4 separate regions of the Homo sapiens genome follow, and regions 1, 3 and 4 are each linked to region 2. Evidence: promoter capture Hi-C in 16 types of primary human blood cells and fetal thymus (Javierre and others, 2016). All regions are on one chromosome and are shown on one strand. Each heading gives the region's core, a stretch centred on a gene start or on the middle of the fragment in contact. The rest is flanking DNA. Distances are from core to core; before and after follow the strand shown.

Region 1 (2,700 bases), core at 78-2,577, 690 kb after region 2:
ATTTGTCAAGTTTGAGCTTTTCCTTTATTTGGAAGGTGAAAATATGCTACTTATCACCACCTTTTGACTTTCATAAACTGAATCCCTAATTCCTATTACAGAACTCTTATGTAATGTTAATTATAACATTAATATTCTTATCTATTTTATCTATTATATTTCCCTGAAGACTGGCACGTATTTTTTAAGCTTGCTGTTGAAATGGATTGAAAGGAAGTATGCTACACATATGACAGGATACGCCTATCAACTTTATGGCTTAAATTTTTTTTTCTTAGGTTGGGGCAATCCAAATATTTTGTTTGATTAGCAACATTAGTAGATATTGTGGTTCAGAAGAATATGGCAATCATATATTTATTACTAGTTTGAACTGTTGTCCAATATAAAATACTGCTACTATAAGTGAAGAGCCAGGGAAAGGCAGATGAGATGAGAAAGTGTCTTGACTAATTTAGTATTCTCCATTCAAAGCAGAAATAACATTTTGCTTCATGTTGACGATTTAATATACTCCACAGCCTCAAGCTAATATTGAATAGACACTGCTATTAATCCATTACATATGTTCAATGTAGTTAATCTTTTAAATATTGTATCACTAAAAAAGCTCATCAGGGCTCATGAATTCAGACTAATTGAAGAAAAGCCTAACATGGTAAAAAGTTAGAGTGATAAATCATCTTAAATTAATCTTAACACCTAAAATATACAGAGTAATTACATGATACCTAGTTGACTTCTTCAGAACTTGCTTCAGTGAAAAAATTTGAAATTAGCATACTTGTTGCTGTGTCCTTCTGAACTATATAAAGACCTAAGGAAAGTTCGTTCTTATAAATCATGAGATGTAAATTCACTGAGTGTAGATTTCAGTGTGCATCTTAAAATTATTTCCTTTATTCATTTATTCACAAAAAATTCAAGCAGTCCTCTTTTTAAGACCTGGAGAAGTGAAAATATAAATTTATAAGAGCATAGTGATGCTTACCTAGAGATACTATGGCAGGGTTCCACCGTGGTTGCACTAAAAGGTAGTTTCTGTGAGTGGTAGACTAGAAAATAATCCAAAATCTTAGAGTAAGTCCCCACTCATGTAGATGCCAACAGCCTTCAGTTCCCTTCACCACCGACTTCCTAAAATTCCATGTATTGCAAAAATTCTAAAATCTTATCATGATACTAAATTGGGCATTCACTATCAAGCAACAAATTGTTCAAATGGCTAATCTGATTTTGTCTTTTAAAATTACTGCATTTTCCACTTATTTTGAATACCAAAATGAAAGGAGTATGTATCACTCTGGCTCCTGGCAGAAAGAGACGGCTCACTCAAACTGTATAATTGAGAAGAATTTAATAGAGGCGCTATTTACAGAAATATGGGAAGGGCTAAGGGAAACCTGTTAGGGATAATGTTTTATTCCAGAGCTTGCAATTGTGAGAAGGTATAACACCCCTGGATCTGATGTGTACAGGGAGAAGATGGCTACTCAAACCTGGAGAGGAAAGGGAACTTGACAGGATCAATAGCCTTTAAAAGAAGAACCATTCAACCTTTTGTGATCTAGCAGGGAGAGCCCCTAGAGTATATATGTTCTGACCTCCCTCTCTAGGGAGATTGCCACTGGCTGAACACAATCAGAAGCCAGAGGGCAAATGTGTTGTTTGATACAATCCTTACAGGTAAGTCCCCAGGCACAGAGAAGGTTGGAAAAAAAAATAGAGAGTGAATCTGGAGAGCAAGTGTGAAATACTCAAGGTAGTAGGACTCTTGCTGCAGGTAACAGAAAATATAATCAAGCTAATCCAAGCAAACAAGGGAATTCATTAACTTACGTATCTTAAAAGTATAGGAGTAGCTCTATCTTCATGCCCAGCTCAGCTTGATCCGACATCTCAAAGGACGTCACTGGGATTCAGTATCTTTCCATCTCTCAGCTCTGTTCTCCTCCATGCAGACTTCACTCAAAGCCTCTATGTGGTGGCAAGATATCTGATAGTAATTTCAGCTTGATATTCAGAAGTTAGCCAGGTGTGGTGGCGCAGGCCTGTAGTCCCAGCTACTCAGGAGGGTGAGGCAGGAGAATCGCTTGAACTCGGGAGGTGGAGGTTGCAGTGAGCCAAGATCGTGCCACTGCACTCAAGCCTGGGCAACAGAGCAAGACTCTGTCAAAAAAAAAAAAAACAAAAACAAAAACCAACAACAACAAAAAAACCAAAAAAATTTAAGTATCCCTAAATTAGATAGCATTTTATAATAAAATCTTGTATAAATTTAAGTTCACGTCCCAAAGAAATTATAGTATGATGAGGTAACAATGGTAGAGCTGCTGTATTTTAACCAGGTATACTACTACATGAACTTGCAACCCACAGTGAATTTTTCCAAGTGAGTGGCAAGGAACTATTAGAACTGAGCTTAGATGTGTATTTTCCTTAAATCGTCCTGATGTTTAGAGAAGAAAAGCTTTAACCAAGTAGACATAGTATTCCGTTCTCTCAGATCACACTGATAGGGTAGATGGAGATTTTTATTGCAGCTGTGTATGTGCAGATAAGACAAAGTGAAGTATGCAAGTATTTAATCATCACATCTTTAAAATGATACAGAAGATCATTTCTTTTTAGCTGTCTATGATGCTTTTTTTACCTTTCCTTTCAATAAGATAGCTACATATTACTTTGTAAATTGCTTTC
Region 2 (2,700 bases), core at 178-2,677:
CACCTTCCATAGCATTCACCTGAGGGACTGTGGACTTAAAATTTTGGACATGGGAGTCTACAGAGGTCTGACTCTGATTCAGTGTAAAACTGTATATGTTTTACTATGTATATTAAGTAAAGAATGAGGAATTTGGTAAATATCAAGCAAATTTCTTTCCAATGATTACCATGTGTTATTAGGAAGTAGCATCTCTTCTTTTGGGATAAAAAAAGCTGAAAACATAAAATGTATCCCAAAGTCTTGGGAATCTTTAATAGCTTTAAAAATTATTTAATTTTGATGTTATATGTTATAATTTTTATAACTTACAACATAGTATTTAGAATAAAGTAAAACCACACATGTTGGCAGCAGCTGGGGATGAGATCCGCTGATATTCTAAAAATAAGTTGCCATAATTTAGCTTTTGATATAAATGTCTTTCATGAGGACTGTAAATGGACATTTTTCGAATTCTAGGCATGTTCATATAATCGGAACTGAATCATATAATCGGAACTGAATGGAAAAAATGAAATGTTTAAAATAATCTAATCTAAATTATAAGATAAATGCAAGTAAAAATATTTCTCATTTGCGATTTTAAAACTGGTAGTTCCACAGAGTGGTGATGAGTACATTATACATATTTATGTAGATTTTACAGGGTGTTTCAAAAGTCCCCGAGGACATATAGGATTCACAGTCTCCACATGTCTTTGCATACAAATGAAGACTTTTTTCTATACTTGTTATAATAAATGCTGAAAATGGCTCTCATGTGCTTATAATAGAGATGACATTTTTGTTCTCAAGGTCACTATGTATAAGAGGGGTCACAAATGCCATTTTCTGCATGGGGACTCAGGGACTTCTGGCTCATTCCTGTAAATTAGTTATCCACATAAATATGTATAGACATATATGTAGTATGCATAGTCACAACATAAATATATTTAACATTTAAGAAAATTTAGATATTCTACTGGTAAACTGACATATGTATACAATATAACTTGTTTTTATTCATAGGAATTTGATTTTTTTTTGTTCAAATGTACTGTTAGCTTAATTGTTATTTCTTTCCCAAAGTTTTTAACAAGACTCCTTTATAAAGAAGCAACATGTTTTACTTGCACATATATTCTCTTTCTCTTTTGTCTTAACTAAAGTTGAGTAATGAAATTAATATTCACAAATAAATAACTAGATGGTGAATTTTTCTTTTTTTAGCAATTTTGGTTTTCATCTATATTTGTATAATTGTTTCATTGAAACTGTCTTTAAAAAAATTGGTTCAAGAGTTAAAGTTTTTTTTTTCTAGTTAAAAATCACAATGTCTGATATATTAACATATGTCAGCTTCCTACAGAAACCCTATGGGTCTGCCCACCTGTGATGTCATAGTAAGGAGGGGCTTTTCTTCAGCAGACTCCTCCCTCGGTATCTCCTTCATCACCATGGCAACAGCCTTATCTGCCGCCCTAGAGCCTTTTCCCTATAACAGTGAAATCAACAATGACTGTGTCAGGAGAGATCTTTAACTTATTATTTATTACAAGATATTCTAATGTTTAAAGAGCAATCCAACATAAATGAAGAGGTAGGCTGCTGCAAGTGAATCTTGAGGCTTTTGGCTGAGGAGAAAACACACAAAATCTGAAAAAAGATTATTTGTGAACTTTTAGTTAGCTACTTTTTCCCCTTTACAGCTGACATATTACATTTAATTTTAACATAGTATTTTATATGTATAATATGTTTTAAGGAAATTAACATGACATGAATTTTTTGTAATATCAATTTAAAAACACTATGGGTTGCCTGCTACGTTCATTTATAAATTATTACTACATAATTCCTAAATATTTTGAATGACAGGAGTTTGGGATAGAGATTAGAAGCAGGATCCAACTCCCACAGAGGGCTTTTGCTGGGTGATCTCTGGAGTCTTTGCCATTTTTGAGTGGATTGGGATAAAAAGAGTAAAAATGTTGCAAAATATCTAAAAATCCTCCAGTGGCTTGACATAACAGTAATTCACCCAGTCTGTTTTGTGGAGATGGTATAAACTTCATGAAAAAAACATTTTGCAACTTTCAATGTTTTTGAGACCAAATAATTTTAATAGAGTTTTAGAAGTGTCTTTTAACTGAAGAACCCCATAAATACAGACATAAAGGATAATTAATACGTAAAGGATAATCCATAACTGACGTAAAGGATAATTAATATTGTGGCACTAATCTATATCTCTCTATATATCTATAGATACAAATGTATATGTATATATATAGATAATATGTATACAAACACATACATATCCCTATGTTATTTGTCTCAAAGAAGTAGAATTATAAACTGTAAAGGGATATGGTGGCTTTCTGTTATTTGAGTTTACCAGATTATTACATTTTTTGAGACTAGATATGGTATAATGGGAAAGCCCCCCAAAATATTACCTTTCCATCCCAATTAGAAAAATTTCATACTATGTAAAAATTAAATAATCCTTAAATACTTTAAAAACAAAAACTTCAATTTTCTCAGGTCTCTGGGTAAAGCCTCCCTGAAGAAAATAATTTTATACTAAGAAAAGATATGAATATTTGTGTTGTAAATCTACTTAAAATACAAATGTAGCAGACAGACCTATCACAGGCAGAGAAACGAAAACCGACATATGGGGGTCTAATATTGGAAAAGGGAATTAAGAGC
Region 3 (2,700 bases), core at 58-2,557, 740 kb after region 2:
CAATGTCAGGAATATAAAAGGAATCATCTCTAAAAATACTACAACTATTAACTAATAAAATTATAAACAACTGTATGGCAATAAATTTGAAATTTGGATAAATATAGAAAATTTTTCCTAGAGAAAAATAGAATTTACCAAAACAGAATCAATAATAAATACAAAATCTGCATTGTCCTATAAACAGTATATAAACCAATAGTTGAAAATGTTCCCCCATAGAAAACTTCAGGCTCCCAATGGCTTTTTTTTCCAGTGGGGTCTTTGAAAAACAAAAAAGATATAATTCCACTCTTTTAGAAACATATTCAATGTATAGAAAAATAAGAAATACACACAAGTCATTTTATGAAGTCAGACATAACCTTAATAGCCTGATACCCTGACAAGGACAGTAGAGCAAGGAGAATTATGGGTCATTTATACACATGAACATAGATGCAAAAATTGTATTAAAATATTCCCTAACAAAATCTAGATGTATGCAAAAGATAATATGTAACAGACAAGTTGGGTTTATTCTAGAATGTAAGGTTGGTTTGACTTTGAAAAATTGATCAATATGATTAAACACAACAGATTGAAGAAGATACATCTTGTCAATAAGTGCTGAGAAAGCATATAATAAAAGTCAACATCCATTCTTGATTAAACAAAATAACTTCTTAGTAAAGGATAAAAATAGATAGGAGCTCAATGTGGTAAAAGGTATCTAAAAAATAGAAATAAACTACAGTAAACCTTATATTTAATGCAAAAACAATGAAAGCTTTCCCTTTGAGATCAGATAATAAGACAAGGATACCTGTAATCAACACTGCTCTTCAGTATTGAACTGGGGAAAAAAGAAAAGTTATAAAGATTGGAAAGCAAGAAATAAAACTGTTATTATTTGAAAATAATATAAATGAAATACAGTATATAGAAAATTAGAATGTACTGATTGTTAGAACAAGATTGTTAAGCAGGGTTGCTGAATACTTAATATACAGAAATTAACTGCATTTCTACATACCAGCAGCAAACCAAAAATGAAATTGACAGTAACATTAAAGAAAAAACATGTAGCCAGAAATAATCTTATAAAAGATGTGCAAAATCACTTCAATAGATGCAGCTATTGAATATCTATTTTTAAAAAGACGTGTTATTGGACTTTACCACAAACCATACATAAAAAGCAATTCCAAGTAGATTAGTGATCTTAATGTAAAAGGGACAATCTAAAGAATGAAGAATTAACCAAAAGAAGAGCCTAGATTTATGGCTATAACATGCCCTATGTCTTTCTTATATGAAAAGCCATTTCGAATGAGTAAAAACGATGCACATCCGGGATGTTAGAGGGGGCAGCTAGTTCTCCTGACATCATCCTGTTTTTTTAATTCCTCAGCAGTTTTAAAACTGAAAATTACCTTATGTTTTCCCGTTCTTGATCAACATATCTTATTTGTGACGCAAGCATTGTTTTATGAACCTTGATTTCTTCAGTTCGCTCTTCCATTGCTGTGTATAATTGCTGTTTTCTTTTTTCTAGGGAAAGAACTTCTTCTGCCTTACTGTGAAGCATTTCTCGAGTACGCTTAACTTCAAGTTTTAAAAGATTGTCCTCTATCATCAAATCCTATCAACGTAACAAAATGGTCAAATATTGAAATTATTTTTAATTGCAAAACCAAAATTTTTTTTATTGCTATATAAGTAAAACTTGAAAATATACCTTTTTCCAATTTAACCATTGACTAAGATATTAGCTAGGCCTAAAATTGATCATAGTTTTTTTTTTTCTTTTAAGAAAAGGGTTTATAGTTATTCCAAATCTTTTTCATAATTCAATTTTAAAGTCAAGCTTTGCTATTATAAAAAACAAAGGGAAGAAGTTATTCCTGAAGTTAAACTTACGCTATCCAAAAAACATAAAGCCCTATGAATGGCCATTTTTATACTCTGAATCTCACAAAATAATGTGGAAATATATTTTTATTTTAAAACAATTCAGTCGTGAATAGAGTACTGACATAAGAGTACACATATCAATCAATTTTCAGAATAGAAACCCCAGAAAAAAACACTCCAGGATATAAGATTTTATTGTTTCATAAACGTGGCTTTTCATTTGGAGAGATTAGATACTTACATCTCACGTGCACCAAAAATATATTCTAGATGAATGAAAAATCTTAAGAGATGAAATCAACGTAACTACTAGAAATAGTAAACATTTGTCTGATTTTTAGTGTAACCAAGAAGTTTCTAAGCATAAAAATTAAAAAGAAAAAAAAACTAAGAGATTTGATGTTTTAAAAAAAGTTTTGTGTCACAAACACTGAATAAAAATGTAAAGGTAAATGGGGAAAATATTTACAATATTTATGACAGAGATAATTTTTTTTTTTTTTTGAGACGGAGTCTTACTCTGTCGCCCAGGCTGGAGCGCAGTGGTGCGATCTCCGCTTACTGCAAGCCCCACCTCCTGGGTTCACGCCATTCTCCTGCCTCAGCCTCCGGAGTAGCTGGGACTATAGGCGCCCGCCACCACGCCCGGCTAATTTTTTGTATTTTTAGTAGAGATGGGGTTTCACCATGTTAGCCAGGATGGTCTCGATCTCCTGACCTCATGATCCACCCGCCTCGGCCTCCCAAAGTGCTGGGATTACAGGTGTGAGCCACCGTGCCCGGCCGACAGAGACAATATTTTTA
Region 4 (2,700 bases), core at 145-2,644, 770 kb after region 2:
AAAGTTCCCATAAATTGCTTACATTAAGTACTACTAATTCCACTACTCTAAAATCTACATTACATTAGACTGTGATTACAATATAGTTGGTGTTGCTCACTAGTTGTAAGAAAGTCAATGAACTGTGCTAGGAGAAAATACTGTCAATAGTTTTCAGATACTACGCTGGTCTAGGAAAACTAAAGAAAACCAAAGTTTCAGTTAGACTTAAAACTTATTATCTACAAATAAGAAATATCCATTAAAAAACAGTTGAGAAATGACATGTTTTATATGAATTGATCACATATTCTAATTAACAGACATTATTTTTAAATAATTATTTAAACACCAATGGTTGTGAATATTCTCTAGAATATATTAGCATATAATCACATCTTTATGTTCAGTTTTATGTAATAAAAGAGTATGTGTTAACTAATTTTACAGTGCTTCAAAGTTATCACTTAGTATTAATTTTACAGTACTAAAGCTACCATTGTTGGAGGTTTATTATTCTTTTGTCTCTATTACTCTATTCATTTGAGGTTTGATGATAATAAGATACAACTACAGAGTCTCTGCCTCTCCAATCCCCAGCTCAGTAGTTTAACAACTTAAGGAAAAGTGTTGTTCCAAATAGTTTATCAATTACTCAATCACATTGAGATTCAAGAATTCTGAGTTTGTTTTTAAGTTTATTAAATTTGTAACTTTCTAATAAGACTTGTAAGTCATGAAATACTTATCTATATTGATTATAAATTGCTTTTTAAAATATGGCACTGTTCATTTTTTTGAAACTACATACTATTTCTCAGACAGTAGATGCACTTTAAAAAAACTAGTTTGAGACAGAAGTTAGAAAACTCTCCAATGCTGTTTGCTGAGCTGCCTGGTTTGCTGGGCATCATTAGGGAGTGAGTTTCTACACTTGAACAGATTATGAAGCTTACTTAATAACCACAAGTTTTAATTTTTATTATATTTATGTTAACATTTCTAAGATGCCTAATGTCTTCCCCAGTTATCTTAAATAAAGTCTCTTAAGTATAATCTAACTTTTTAATCTCAGGATTATTATTATGAATTTCAATTCTTGAACAATGCTAAGATGTGTAGACTACTGGCCTCCACTCAAAATGGCCCCAGTGAGTTGTGCTGAAAAATTAAAAAGGAGACAGAAATTTTATTATGTATTATATTAGTTCTGTTTCTGCTTATAGCCATCATTTCTCACCACCATCATTGTACCTTTCTCAAATAACCTGCTGTCTAATACAGATTGTTTGAATAATGATTTCTCCTTTCATATGGATTAATTTTTTGGTTAAAATTGGAGCAGTCGCAGCACTTTGGGAGGCTGAGGCGGGAGGATCACCTGAGGTCAGGAGTTCGAGACCAGCCTGACCAACATGGTGAAATCCCATCTTTACCAAAAATACAAAAATTAGCTGGGGGTGGTGGGTGCCTATAATCCCAGCTACTCGGGAGGCTGAGGCATGAGAATCTTTTGAACCCAGGAGGCAGAGGTTGCAGTGAGCTGAGATCACGCCACTGTACTCCAGCCTAGGAAACAGAGCGAGACTTCATCTCAAAAAAAAAAAAAAAATTGGACCAGTAGTTAGTTCCTCTAAGCCTTTTTCTATCTACTTTCATGTTCAAGGTTATGTTCACAATAGTTTAATTATGCTAAGGTTTCCTATTATAGCTGTAAAAATCGCAGATGTAAATATACTATGAGATGTTCCATGACTACACGATATAATCAACATAAATTTCAGTTACTGTACCTGTGTAATTGAGAGCTCTTGCTTAACATTTTTGAAGTGAGAAGTCATAGAATTAATTCGCTCTTCATACTCACGTAACTCATCTTGCAAGCTTGCTCTTTCATCCTTCAGCTTTGACAACTGTAAATAATAAATACTATGATTAACCAAAGTCCTATTAAGTTTTACCATATGAAGGACCTAAAATCAAAGAAAATTAAATTTTCATTTACATTGTCTTAGTCAATTTGGACTGCTATAACAAAAATATCATAGACTAGGTAGCTTAAACAAAATTTAATTTGATTCATGAGAAATTCCTCACAGTTCTGAAGGCTAGGAAGTCCAGGATCAAGGTGCCAACTAATATGATTCCTGGTGAGGGCCCTCTTTCTTATTTGCAGACAGATGCCTTCTTGCTGTATCTTCACATGACAGAGAAAGAGATCATCTCCCTCTTGTCTTTTCTTAAAAGAGCACCAACACCATTCATGAGGGCTCTACCTCTATGACCTGTTTACTTCTCAAAGGCTTCACCTCGAAATACCATCACATTGAGGATTGAGACCACCATATGAATTTTGGGAGGACACAAACATTAAAAACATAGCATTTTGTTTCTTTAAATGTCCACATGAACTTCTAAAATCTACTAATTCTTTAAATGTTATAAAATAGTGTTGTGATTTGGAGATTGCTGTGGGAAAATTAGCACCATATTACACGGAATGGAAATCTCTCTTAGATTTGCAGCGGTAGCAGATCTACTCAAAAATGCATTTTTCATACAGCAATACTATATTTTTATAGGGCAAAAATGAGATTCTACTCCATTATTAAACCACAAGAGATCTTTTTTTTTTTTTTGAGATGGAGTCTTGCTCTTGTCACCCAGGCTGGAGTGCAGTGGCGCGATCTCGGCTCACTGTAACCTCTGCCTCCCGAGTTC

The links. Contacts are between HindIII fragments. The CHiCAGO score rates a contact against its expected background, and 5 or more counts as called.
Region 1: a fragment that was not itself captured here is called in contact with the fragment with the promoter of PEX5L-AS2 in region 2 in 2 of 17 cell types (endothelial precursors and M2 macrophages); the score reaches 9.5 in endothelial precursors.
Region 3: a fragment that was not itself captured here is called in contact with the fragment with the promoter of PEX5L-AS2 in region 2 in 1 of 17 cell types (endothelial precursors); the score reaches 6.1 in endothelial precursors.
Region 4: a fragment that was not itself captured here is called in contact with the fragment with the promoter of PEX5L-AS2 in region 2 in 1 of 17 cell types (endothelial precursors); the score reaches 6.8 in endothelial precursors.

What each region holds. Positions count from the first base shown.
Region 1 is chr3:180,582,509-180,585,208 of GRCh38, forward strand. TTC14-DT (TTC14 divergent transcript) reads right to left here. Exons shown (of 3, transcript NR_183700.1): 2 at 1,840-2,149. Among named protein-coding and RNA genes, the nearest start is that of TTC14-DT, 18 kb to the right of the region's middle. The HindIII fragment of the contact is 2,281 bases long and covers 188-2,468 here.
Region 2 is chr3:179,896,767-179,899,466 of GRCh38, forward strand. It overlaps PEX5L-AS2 (PEX5L antisense RNA 2), which reads left to right and starts at 1,428. Exons shown (of 3, transcript NR_110059.1): 1 at 1,428-1,585. It overlaps PEX5L (peroxisomal biogenesis factor 5 like), which reads right to left. Exons shown (of 15, transcript NM_016559.3): 3 at 1,376-1,480. The HindIII fragment of the contact is 5,337 bases long and covers 1-2,700 here.
Region 3 is chr3:180,640,578-180,643,277 of GRCh38, forward strand. CCDC39 (coiled-coil domain 39 molecular ruler complex subunit) reads right to left here. Exons shown (of 20, transcript NM_181426.2): 13 at 1,416-1,624. Among named protein-coding and RNA genes, the nearest start is that of CCDC39, 38 kb to the right of the region's middle. The HindIII fragment of the contact is 1,080 bases long and covers 768-1,847 here.
Region 4 is chr3:180,662,095-180,664,794 of GRCh38, forward strand. CCDC39 (coiled-coil domain 39 molecular ruler complex subunit) reads right to left here. Exons shown (of 20, transcript NM_181426.2): 2 at 1,773-1,892. Among named protein-coding and RNA genes, the nearest start is that of CCDC39, 16 kb to the right of the region's middle. The HindIII fragment of the contact is 933 bases long and covers 929-1,861 here.